4 separate regions of the Homo sapiens genome follow, and regions 1, 2 and 3 are each linked to region 4. The links are contacts of gene promoters, found by promoter capture Hi-C in human tissues and cell types (Jung and others, 2019). All regions are on one chromosome and are shown on one strand. The core of a region is centred on a gene start or on the middle of the fragment in contact, and the rest is flanking DNA. Distances in the headings are between cores, read along the strand shown. Region 1 holds the start of IFT140 (intraflagellar transport 140). Region 2 holds the start of CLCN7 (chloride voltage-gated channel 7). Region 3 holds the start of TMEM204 (transmembrane protein 204). Region 4 holds the start of NDUFB10 (NADH:ubiquinone oxidoreductase subunit B10).

Region 1 (2,700 bases), core at 156-2,655, 350 kb after region 4:
ACTGTTGAGAACGGGGGCATTTCCACTTCAAAGGAACACACGATCGAGGCACCAACACCAACCACGAAATACAGGGACGCGGGCGAGGACCTCTCTTTCCGAGAGATCGGGAAATGGCTTCAAAGTCGCAATGATGCCCCCACCCTGAGGTGCAGATCACACAAGGATCCGTGGCCGTTTTCTCCTGTCGGAATTGGTCTAGGGAATCTCGAGTTCATGCTAGTTTTAAAAAAAACTCTGCCAAAGAACAAAACCACCCACGACAAACACCCCAACTTAAGGGATTTCGTGGCAAGACTTCCCACTCTTCCCCCTCAACCCACCTCTTTCCACTCAAGAAACCTAAACCCCCAAAGACCTCGTCTCGGGCTGAGAACCCCGCTGCCCAGGGACCTGTCCGCCCGCAGGCCACCCGGGACCCAAGCAAAACAAACTCGGCCACCAGAGTGAACTCGCCCGCTCGCCGGGCTCCACACCCAAGACGCCGACCGAGCACGGGGAAGCGCTTTTCGCCACTGAAAGGACCGACGCCGTCCAGACTTTACCCTAAGGGCCAACAAGCAGGGGGATGGCCTCCTTTTCGCGAGAACCTCCAACGAGACCGGACTTTTCTCGGAGGCGCAGTCTCCTCCAGCCCCGTCCCGCTCCGCACCGGCTCGCGTCTCGGGATGGGGACGCAGAAGCCTCCTCGCCCTGAGGCCAGTTGTGGCTGTACCGGGCGCTGTGGAAGCGACGCCCCCCCCGCGCTCTCCCGCGCCGCCCGACAGGACCCCCCGGCCGGGCCTCGCCATGACAGCCCCGCCGCCCAGCCTTGGTCACCTTTTTCATCAACGCCGGGCGGCAGCCTGGCTTCCCGGGGCCTCCCCGGGTGCCCGCAGAACCAGCCGGGCCGGGCAGCCCCGGCCCCCGAGCGCCGGCTGCAGGGAGGCCGCAACGCCGGGCTGGTCGTCCGCCTCGGAAGCGACTGGTCGAGCGGCGCTAGCCCCGGCACGTCCCCTCCGCGGGCCGGCGCGCGGCTGCGGGGGCTGCGGACGCAGATACTGCCGCCACTCACCCTAGCGAAGCCGGCCCGCCGCCCTCAGCAGCAGTTCCGGCTACGGCGGCCGGTGGGGACCTCACGGACGGCGCGCGGGGGCGGGGCCGGGGTGCGCGGGCGCGCGGGGCGGGGCGACGAACGCGGGGGCGAGCACCCCCAATGTTTCTTCGGGCCCGTCTCCCCAAAACGGCGCTCCCATTGGCTAGCGCTGGGCGGGCGCGCTCGCACGTACGAGCCCGGTGGGCGTCGGGGGCGAGCCCGCGGCGCCAGTAGTGTTGTGACGCCAGCCTCGCGACCTTGCGGACTGTGCGTCTCTTTGGATTGGTGGACAGACAGCCAATAGGCCAGGGCCCGTGCTGTGATTGGCCGCAGCAGTGTTGACGGATACGTGAGAAGAAAACGGCGTGGTAGCTCGGAGTGTGGAATCGGGCGCGAACCTGAGTTCTGAGAAGTGTGGAAGCACGTCTGAGGCAGTTAAGCGCACCCTTTCCTGGGTGGAGTATGTGCTTCTGCGCTACGTTAGCGTAGCCGAGCGGCGCTGGGCACTTGGTCATTTTCTTCATAGCAAGAAAGCAGAGGGGTGTTTTTCAAATTCCAGTGTTTCTTTCTTTCTTTTTTTTTTTTTTTGAGACGGAGTTTCGCTCTGTCGCCCAGGCTGGAGTGCAGTGGCGCAATCTTGGCTCACTGCAAGCTCCGCCTCCCAGGTTCAAGCGATTCTCCTGCCTCAGCCTCCCGAGTAGTTGGAATTACAGGCGCGCGCCACCATACTCGCTAATTTGTGTGTTTTTAGTACATACGGGGTTTCACCATGTTGGCCAAGCTAGTCTCGAACTCCTGACCTCAAGTGATCCGCTCGTCTCAGCCTCCCAAAGTACTGGGTTTGCAGGCGTGAGCCACCGCGCCCGGCTCAAATTCCAGTGTTTCTTTTTCTTTTCTTTTTTTTTTTTTTTGACTCGCTCTGTCGCCCAGGCTGGAGTGCAGTGGCCCGATCTCGGCTCGCTGCAGTCTCCGCCTCCCGGGGCTCAGGCGATTCTCCTCCCTCAGCCTCCTGTAGCCGAGACTAGAGGCGCCACCGCGCCCGGCTAATTTTTGTAATTTTTTAGAGACAGGATCTCGCCTTGTTGCCAAGGCTGGTCTCGAACTCCTGGGCTCCAACGATCCGCCCGCCCCAGCCCCCAAGAGCTGGAAGCCCAAGCGCGAGCCCCGCGTCCGGCCGCCAGCTGCTTTCTTGGGGGCGCTCCCTGCCTCGCTTGGCTCTGTGGAGTCCGGGGCCCGGCGATGGAACAGGCCCTCAGTCACCCAACACCTCAGGACACTGCCGAGCGCATCGACTTTCCCAGAAACGCTTGACCCACGCCCTCCGCTCCGAAACTAGAAAAGCGGAGCCCAGGGAAGGCCTGGGCCGAGACCGCCGCGTGCTGGAAAGGCTCCGCCTCGGGATGCACGGGAAGGGAACACGCCCAGGAGGGGAGGATGCCGCGGTTGATCGGGGCTGTGACAGCGCGCCCTCCACACAAAGGGGACCCAGACGCCGGCCCTGCGCCGCCGTCTCTCCTAGAAAAAGCTCGTCCCGCTTCTCTCTTGCAGAGCGGAATAACCTGGCCCCCGACGCTCGGGCCTCGGAGCTGCACGTGCGTGCCCGATCGCCTTCGGCTCTTTCCGGC
Region 2 (2,827 bases), core at 321-2,820, 480 kb after region 4:
AAAAGAAAAAAGAAATGCCAACCATGGCCGGGCATGGTGGCTCATACGAAGAGTCCTAGCAACTCAGGAGGCTGAGGAAGGAGGATCCCTTGAACCCAAGAGGTCAAGGCTGCAGTGAGCTATGATCTTGTCATTGTACTTCAGCCTGGGTGACAAAGTGAGACTGTGTCTCAAAAATAAAAAAATAATAATAATAATTTAAAAAAAGGCCGGGCACCGTGACTCACGCCTGTAATCTCAGCACTTTGGGAGGCCGAGGCGGGTGGATCACGAGGTCAGGAGATCGAGACCATCCTGGCTAACACAGTGAAACCCCATCTGTACTAAAAATACAAAAAATTAGCCGGCCATGGTGACGGGCGCCTGTAGTCCCGGCTACTCGGGAGGCTGAGGCATGAACCCGGGAGGCAGTGAGCCGAGATTGGGCCACTGCACTCCAACCTGGGCGACAGAGTGAGACTCCGTCTCAATAATAAAAATATCGACCTTTTAAAAGGAAGAGGATGAGGCACAAAATATAAAGAGTTTACTCTAGAGGCTAACGTGGAAGGATCACTTGAGGTCAGAAGTTTGAGAACAGCCTGGGCAACACACTGTGAGCTCCACAGCAAAAATTAGCCGGGTGTGGTGGTGCAGGCCTGTGGTCCCTGTTACTCCAGAGGCTGAGGCGGGAGGATGGCTTGAGTCCAGGAGGTCAAGGCTGCACTGAGCTGTGACCGCACCACCGCACTCCAGCCTGGGCGACAGAAGGAGACCCTGTCTCAAAATAAATAAATAAATGACCCAGAAGGTGGGGACAGGGTGGGGGCTGATGTAAAGCTGTCAAGAATTCTCTTTGGTTTATGGAAATACCATTGATTAGTGATGGGCTGTGCCCTGGTGCGGGTACAGGGTCCGGGCGGCTATTTGGCTAATTCACAGCTATCTGCGTAGTAGCCGGCAGTTTCCAGAGGCGACCCTCCTGTACTGTCTCTGGGGCCTGATCGTTGAAGAGGACTCGCCTTCTGTTCTTTTCTCATTAGGCGGGAGGACCCTCTGGGGCTGCCTGGAGGAAGCCTCCACTCCGACCCTCGCCCGAGTGCCTACTGCGAGGGCGGATGCATGCTTCGGGACTTCTAATTTCATCCTTCACGTCTTTAGCCGCCGCCTATGGCAAGGAAAGGCCTGCCCTCGCCCCTGCCTCCCTCCTCCCTTCCCCACCGCGGCTCCGTCACGATCGGCGCGGGCGACCGGGCCTGGGGGAGCCCCTCCAGCCGGCTCCTGCCCTCAGGCCCCGGGCGCTTCCCTCGCCCCGACTCCCGGGCCCGAGGTCCCGGGGGCGGCCATTCGCCTCCCAAGCACTCGGCGCTCAGCCCAACGGGGCCGCCTTTGCAGTCGCGTGGGCAGAACGGGGTCCTCAGGGCCGCGGCGATTCTCTAGGGCGGGCGGCGCCACGACCCGCCGGGAGCGCGGCTCCCAGGAGCCCCCGCGCGACCGGGCCTCGGTGGTTGCCGTTGCAGGTCACATGGTCGCCGTCGCTCATCACGTGGCCCCGTCGCGCGTCACGTGGCCGCCGGCGCGGGTCACGAGAACAAACACGGGGGCAGCCGGCGCTTCCCGGCCGGTGTCGCTCCGCGGCGGGCCATGGCCAACGTCTCTAAGAAGGTGTCCTGGTCCGGCCGGGACCGGGACGACGAGGAGGCGGCGCCGCTGCTGCGGAGGACGGCGCGGCCCGGCGGGGGGACGCCGCTGCTGAACGGGGCTGGGCCTGGGGCTGCGCGCCAGGTGAGGCCGGGCAGGGCGCAGGCGGGGAAACTGAGCCCTCGTGCGCCCCGCAGCCCGCGCCCTCGTGAGCCTTCTGGCGGCGCCGCGTGTCTCGGTCCTGGAGGCGACCGAGGCGCGGTGGACTCGGGAACGCGCCCCGGGGCTCCTCGGCGGGGCCGGGCTGGCGGGGGCGCCTGGGGTCTGGAGTCTTCGGAGGCCGCGCCGGGCTCGGTGGCCGGGAGGGCTGCGTGGGCGAGGCGGAGCTCGCCAGACCCCGCGGAATGTGGGGCGCTGAGGGGCGCCGGGGCAGCCGTGGCGCACGTTCATTCCCTCCGGTGTCCCCCAGACTGGCCCTAAAGGGGTGCAAGTGGCTTTCTGTTCAGGTGACTTTTAAAAATTGTCATCCTACACGAGCAACTAATTTTGTTTGCGTTTTTGACCCCCTGGGAGATGGAAACAGTTAAGATTGCAGCCGGGTCACTGTCTTTCAGTGAGAATGACTGAGCGCCTTTATCTGCCATCTTTCTGTGTGGGGATCAGTCCCGACTTTCAGGTGATCTTGGGAGTGACGAGTATTTGTACTCAGTCTCCCTTCGCACCGAGTTGAATTTGCAATGTGCAGGCAAACACAATAAGCAGCAAGTCAGAGGTTGGAATGCGTTCCGCATGTCACCCTGCAGCGTGCGTCTGAGCAGTGTTAAGGTCTGGAGAACCGTTGCGGGTACATTTGTTTCCCTGTCTGTGTATTGTCTTAATATTTTTTTTTTTTTGAGACGGAGTTTCACTGTAGTTGCCCAGGCTGGAGTGCAATGGCGCGATCTCGGCTCACTGCAACCCCCACCTCCCGAGTTTAAGTGACTCTCCTGCCTCAGCCTCCTGAGTAGCTGGAATTACAGGCGTGCGCCACCGCGCCCGGCTAATTTTGTATTTTTAGTAGAGACGGGGTTCCTCCGTGTTGGTCAGGCTGGCCTCGAACTCCCGACCTCACGTGATCCCCCGCACCTCAGCCTCCCAAAGTGCTGGGATTACAGGCGTGAGCCACTGCGCCTGGCCGTATTGTGTTACTTTTGAGTTAATGGACCGT
Region 3 (2,802 bases), core at 149-2,648, 430 kb after region 4:
TTTTCATTTTTTTTTTATGTTCAGAGACAGGGTCTCTCGCTATGTAGGCTAGGTTCGTCTTGAACTCTTGGCCTCAAGCAGTCCTCCCGCCTCAGCCTCCCAAAGCGCTAGGATTACAGACGTGAACCACTGCGCCCAGCCGTAATAATTATTTTCAACCAAGGAAAAATGCCTTTCCTTGATTTGATTAATGTACCCATCTCTTAACTATGTGTAACGGCAGAGAGGCCCCCCAAATGCCTGAGATGAATTCCTGTGTAAAAGAGCTGGAGGCAGATTCTGTGCTGAGCAGGAGGAGTGTGTGGGGCCACCACTCACCAGGGAGAGGGGGCCTTGGGGCCTGGTTCCCTGGGAGACACAGTGCCCCCTCCTGCCTGCCCAGAGGCCACGCTCAGGGCAGAGCAGGGGCCAGGCCTCCCCACCCGCTCACCAGGTCCGCGCCTAACATCTCCCATGTGCCCTCGAGCCTCGGCCACGCTGAAGGCATCAGGAAAACAATTGGACTTACGTTTGACGGTGCCTCGGGACTCCTGGAAGCCGGCTGCCTCGGAGCCCCAGCCCAGCGCCTCACAGTCATGTGCGTCCACCTGGCCGGCTCTGGCCCCAGGGCTCGGCCCTCCCCGGGTCCTGTCCACCAGCCAGCAGGACCTCCACAGCCCCACGCTGCGCCTGCGCCCATCCTCCAGCGTCTGGCACACCCAGTTGGAGGTGAAGGCCGCCACGTTGTTGAGGATGAGTGAGACCAGGGCCACCAGCACGGCCGCGGCCACGAGTCTCTGCACGGTCATCGCTGACGCCGGTGCCGCCGCTTATCCGGAGAAAGCCAAGTCCCAGTCCGCGGCCGCACGTCCAGGGAGAGCCGACGCTGCTAGGGGTGGCTAGAGGACATCACCACTCATCCTCGGGGCGGCGCGGGCGGAGGCCCATGGGATGGTCCAGGTGTGCCGCCTCTCGGCCCGGCCTTATCCTCCTTCCTGCACCTGGAGCAGGGCCAGGCCTGTGCTGAAGCTGCTCGCCTCGGGGCCCATCCCAGGGAGCAGAGGGTGGGCAGCAGCAAGAACCCAGGGCCAGGAGTGCGCCGTCTTCCCGGGAAGCGGAGGCCGGCCTGTGCCGCGCGTGCCTCTTCTCGCCTGCAGCAGTGGAAAACAGAGTCACTCGGGAGGCCGGCAGCAGTGGGAGTCGAGCCCGCGCCACACTCCTTAGCACCGGCCTGCTGTGAGTGCCAGGCTCCGGGCAGGGTGGCCGGTGTGGAGCGGGTTCACAGCTCCTCTGTGCTGCCTGGGCCCCTGTGTGGATGCCTCCAGGGCAGTTGGCCGGTCCTGGAAAGCAGAGTGGCTGCTGCAGGGACGCCCGTGTGCGCAGAGCTCGCCTTCCCTGGCTCTCAGCAGAGAGGAAATGGTTGTTTTTGAGACTGTTTTTGGTGAGCTGGAAGGCGTAGCCAACCGCAACAAATAGCGGCCCTGCCGCGGCAGCCAGACACCAACAGGATGTGCTTCCTGATGGGAAAGGCCAGGAGACTTCTGAGGCCCTGCTCCAGGCCCACCTCCTGCCGCCCCTCCCCATCTTCCTGTCCCAGAGGAGAGGCCAGGGATGCCGGGTGCGGGACAGATCCCTCGTCTCGCCTGTTGCTTTTAAGCCTGGTGGCCCCCGGGGCCTGGAGGCTGGTACTGAGCGACTATTGCCTGCCCTGGGGACTTCACACCCCCCAGCCATCCAGTTGCCCCCAGGACCATAGGTACCCCCAGGACCATAGGAACCACAAGCCTCCCCCCGCCCGTGTGTTCCAGGCCTGCCCCCGCCACGGGAATGCTGCCCTCAAAAGGGGGGCAGATATCACAGGATTGCTGGGAAGGGGAGAGACCCGTGTGCCTGGAGGGAGCAAGTTCACCCAGACCTGCAGGGCCAGGGACCTGTACTTGGAGGACCTCGGGGCCAGGGACCTGTACTTGGAGGGCCTTGGGGCCAGGGACCTGTACTTGGAGGACCTCGGGGCCAGGGACCTGTACTTGGAGGACCTCGAGGCCAGGTCATTCTTAGGTGGCAAGAAGGGTAAGATTCTGGATGTGCTGGGTGGGGCTCTCAGCGGGGCCTGGGACAGAGCGAATGTCACGTGGGGCCTGGGCCACCTCTGCTATTGATGGGAACGGTCACCCCCCACAGCTGGGGACAGGACTAGGCAGGTCACCTTGTGAGTGGTCAGGCTCTCGGGCAGAGCTTATGCTGCCAGGGAGCTCAGAAGCATCTTCGTCTATTCTGCTCAGAATTATTCTGCCCAGCTGGGCAGACACCACGAGAGGGTCTCCTACTCTGTCCCATCTCCAGAGACCCGAAACCCAGCATGGGATTCCCAGCCTACCCAGGCTCCAAAGCTTCGTGAATGCAGGTGTCCCACATCCGTGCAAACTGTTCATGGGCACACGCCCAAGACAGTGCTGGGACAGAGAGTCCTGTTCCCAGCCTGTGGTAACAGCAGAGCTTTGACCGTTTCCTGTCCTTGCACTGCCCGTGCTTGGGCCCTGGCTCAGGGCGGTCCCGAGAGCTGCCACTTCCTGGGACCAGTCTCCATTCACACGTTGGCATGTGGCTCTGTATATCCACAGGTGAAGCAAGGTTCCCCACACACGCCCTGTGTCTGTTCCAGAAAGGCAGCAGCTCCGTCCTCACCAGCCCGTGGTGCGTGCTGGGTCCTGAGAAGCGTTTCTCCACTGGCTTCCTGAGGGACGTGCCTGGGGGGGATTTTCCCCGGGGATTTGTCGCAGACGTGTCCGTCAGGTTTCTCCTTTCCCCTCTTCCTTGGCTTGT
Region 4 (2,548 bases), core at 1-2,500:
GGCTCCAACAGGGAGCCTCCAGCAAGCAGAACTTACCACCTTACGGCCTCAGCTTCCTCACTGGGAAATGAACGAGCTAAAAGGAGAGCTCGAACATCCAGACACATAGGACAGACATGCTCTACAACTGCTACAAAAGAGAGGGAGCTGGGTCCGCTGTTGCACGGTTTCCAGATCTTTGGGGGTTTGATTTGGAGACTTCACCCTCTTACGGAAGAACCACCAGAGCATGCTATGCACCCCAAGTGTTCAAAAAGAACTGAACCAGGCTGGACACGGTGGCTCAGGCCTGTAATCCCAGCACCTGGGGGCCAAGGTGGGAGGATCACCTGAGGTCAGGAGTTCGAGACCAGCCTGGCCAACATGGTGAAACCCCGTGTCTACTAAAAATATAAAAATTAGCTGGGCGTGGTGGTGGTGCGCCTGTAATCCTAGTACTGGGGAGGCTGAGGCAGGAGAATCGCTTGAACCCGGGGTGGGGCAGAGGTTGCAGTGAGCCGAGATCGCGCCACTGCACTCCAGCCTGGGCAACAGAGTGAGACTGTCTCAGGAAAAAAAAAAACAACAAAAACTGAACTGGGCATTTTCCCGGTTCGTTCCAGAGATGCTGAATTTGGGCATCTCGGCCATCACCCCGACACTTGGTCATCCGGCAGAGAGACATTTGAGAGAGGCCTGAGGCCAGCGGTGCAGTGGAGGGGTGCCCGGGGCGGCGGGGGGCGGAGAGCAGTGCGGGGTCCTGGGGCAGTGGGCGCTGGGTGCGGCAGGGAGGGAAGAGTCCTGGGAAGAAGCGGGGCATCCCGGGGTGCAGGGGAGAGTAAGGGATCCTGGGAGGTGAGGTCCGGGGTGCAGTGGGAGGCCAAAGGAGGCGACGGAGCTCGGAGGTCTCCGGGGGTGGGGAGTTGTCCCCGGGGTGCAGCGGGGGGCGGTCTCAGGCAGACGGGACCCCGGAGGCATTGGAGGATCCAGGCAGGGTGTGGGATCCAGGGGTCCCCAGAGGCCGGCGAGGGAGCCCCGGGCTGGGGCTTCGTACCTCTCACGAGGGTCACGGGTCGGTCCACGATGAGGTCGAACGCTTTCATCATGTAGACGATGGGATTGGGCTGCACCGGCGTGCGGCGCGGGGGCTCAGGGTACACATCCTTGTCCCAGCTGTCCGGCATGGCGGCGGCGGGCGCGGACTCCGCTCCCGGACGCGCTGCCCTGGCCTCTACCTCCGTCCGGGTCCCGCGGCCTAGGTCGCCCGCTACAGAGGACGCCGAGGGCGGCTGCGTCTGCGCGCTGGCGCCGCGATGCACCATGGGACTTGTAGTTCCCCGGCTCCGCCGGGCGCGGCCGGGACCCGCCTCGCCGCAGGGCGCCCCCGCGTGGGGCCTCCGTTCTCGGTCTGTGCCGAGCGCCTACGCGGTGCTGGTCGCTGGTCTGGGCGCCTGGGAAGCAGCCGCGAACCGGACAGATTCCTGCTTACGATGAAAGAAACAGACAAAAGGCAACTGACATAAGGAATAGGAGGGGGTCATTCGGTTCCCACTGCGCGCCAGGCACTGTGCTGAGTGCAGCAGGGAATAAGATAAACTGTGATGGAGAACACAGGCCGTTAGAGCGCACACGACAAAGTGAACAAATAGCACGCGATTCCAAACACCCTACTCCTCCAGGAAGCTTTCCTGGATTGCCTAGTCCCTACAGACTTCTCTGGGCCCCGCTCTCTACAAGGGCCCCTCATGGACTGGCTGGTGCCAGTTAACTTGGGAGCCTGTCTGGGGGAGGGCAGGGAGCAGACCAGGAGGCAGGGCTTGCCCTTAGGCGGCTCATAGGGAGAAGGCACCTACCCTGGGCACAGGGCCCTCTGGCCGGCTTTGATGGTTCCATCCTGGCCCTGGGGCACTCTGGTGCTTCTAGGCAGCTCCACTGAGCAGGGTCCTGCTGGCCACATCTTCAGTCTCCACACCTGGCACGGCCCCTGGCTGCTATCCAGGGGGGACACTGGTCATGTCCTGTCCTGAGGTTGAGGCCAGCGACACAGAACCATCAACCCTACAGACAAACAGTGAGAGGTGACAGCGTGCTGGCAGTCCTCAGAGCCCTCGCTCGCTCTCGGCGCCTCCTCTGCCTGGGCTCCCACTTTGGCGGCACTTGAGGAGCCCCTTTCTGGGCTGGCCAAGGCCAGAGCGGGCTCCCTCAGCTTGCGGGGAGGTGTGGAGGGAGAGGCGCAGGCGGGAACCGGGGCTGCGCGCGGTGCTTTGCGGGCCAGCGCGAATTCCAGGTGGGTGTGGGCTCGGCGGGCCCCGCACTCGGAGAGCCTGGCCGGCCCTGCCGGCCCTGGGCAATGAGGGGCTTAGCACCCGGGCCAGCGGCTGCGGAGGGTGTGCTGGGTCCCCCAGCAGGCCGGCCCACCGGCGCTGCGCTCGATTTCTCTCGCCAGGCCTTAGCTGCCTCCCCGCGGGGCAGGGCTCGGGACCTACAGCCCGCCATGCCTGAGCCTCCCCCACTCCGTGGGCTCCTGTGCGGCCCGAACCTCCCCGACGAGCGCCGCCCCCTGCTCCAG

The links. Contacts are between HindIII fragments. The study calls those that stand out against the background at their distance.
Region 1: the fragment with the promoter of IFT140 here is called in contact with the fragment with the promoter of NDUFB10 in region 4 in 1 of the 25 tissues and cell types used here (dorsolateral prefrontal cortex).
Region 2: the fragment with the promoter of CLCN7 here is called in contact with the fragment with the promoter of NDUFB10 in region 4 in 1 of the 25 tissues and cell types used here (dorsolateral prefrontal cortex).
Region 3: a contact is called between the fragment with the promoter of TMEM204 here and the fragment with the promoter of NDUFB10 in region 4, in 1 of the 25 tissues and cell types used here (lymphoblastoid cells).

The regions. Positions count from the first base shown.
Region 1 is chr16:1,610,777-1,613,476 of GRCh38, reverse strand. It overlaps IFT140 (intraflagellar transport 140), which reads left to right and starts at 1,405. Exons shown (of 31, transcript NM_014714.4): 1 at 1,405-1,509; 2 at 2,624-2,700. It overlaps CRAMP1 (cramped chromatin regulator 1), which reads right to left and starts at 1,117. Exons shown (of 21, transcript NM_020825.4): 1 at 820-1,117. RefSeq lists enhancers at 221-721, 722-1,222, 1,611-1,670 and silencers at 601-760, 791-910, 931-1,460, 2,699-2,700. The HindIII fragment of the contact is 16,182 bases long and covers 1-2,700 here.
Region 2 is chr16:1,473,771-1,476,597 of GRCh38, reverse strand. CLCN7 (chloride voltage-gated channel 7) reads left to right here and starts at 1,570. Exons shown (of 25, transcript NM_001287.6): 1 at 1,570-1,764. The coding sequence starts at 1,624. RefSeq lists silencers at 1,148-1,497, 1,618-1,827 and an enhancer at 1,067-1,610. The HindIII fragment of the contact is 17,994 bases long and covers 1-2,827 here.
Region 3 is chr16:1,532,262-1,535,063 of GRCh38, reverse strand. It overlaps TMEM204 (transmembrane protein 204), which reads right to left and starts at 1,398. Exons shown (of 3, transcript NM_024600.6): 1 at 509-1,398. The coding sequence starts at 788. The region is part of intron 19 of IFT140 (intraflagellar transport 140); the gene reads left to right. RefSeq lists enhancers at 665-1,368, 1,369-2,072. The HindIII fragment of the contact is 11,677 bases long and covers 787-2,802 here.
Region 4 is chr16:1,958,240-1,960,787 of GRCh38, reverse strand. It overlaps NDUFB10 (NADH:ubiquinone oxidoreductase subunit B10), which reads right to left and starts at 1,250. Exons shown (of 4, transcript NM_004548.3): 1 at 1,034-1,250. The coding sequence starts at 1,163. RefSeq lists silencers at 621-730, 1,161-1,470 and an enhancer at 2,193-2,548. The HindIII fragment of the contact is 2,906 bases long and covers 1-2,283 here.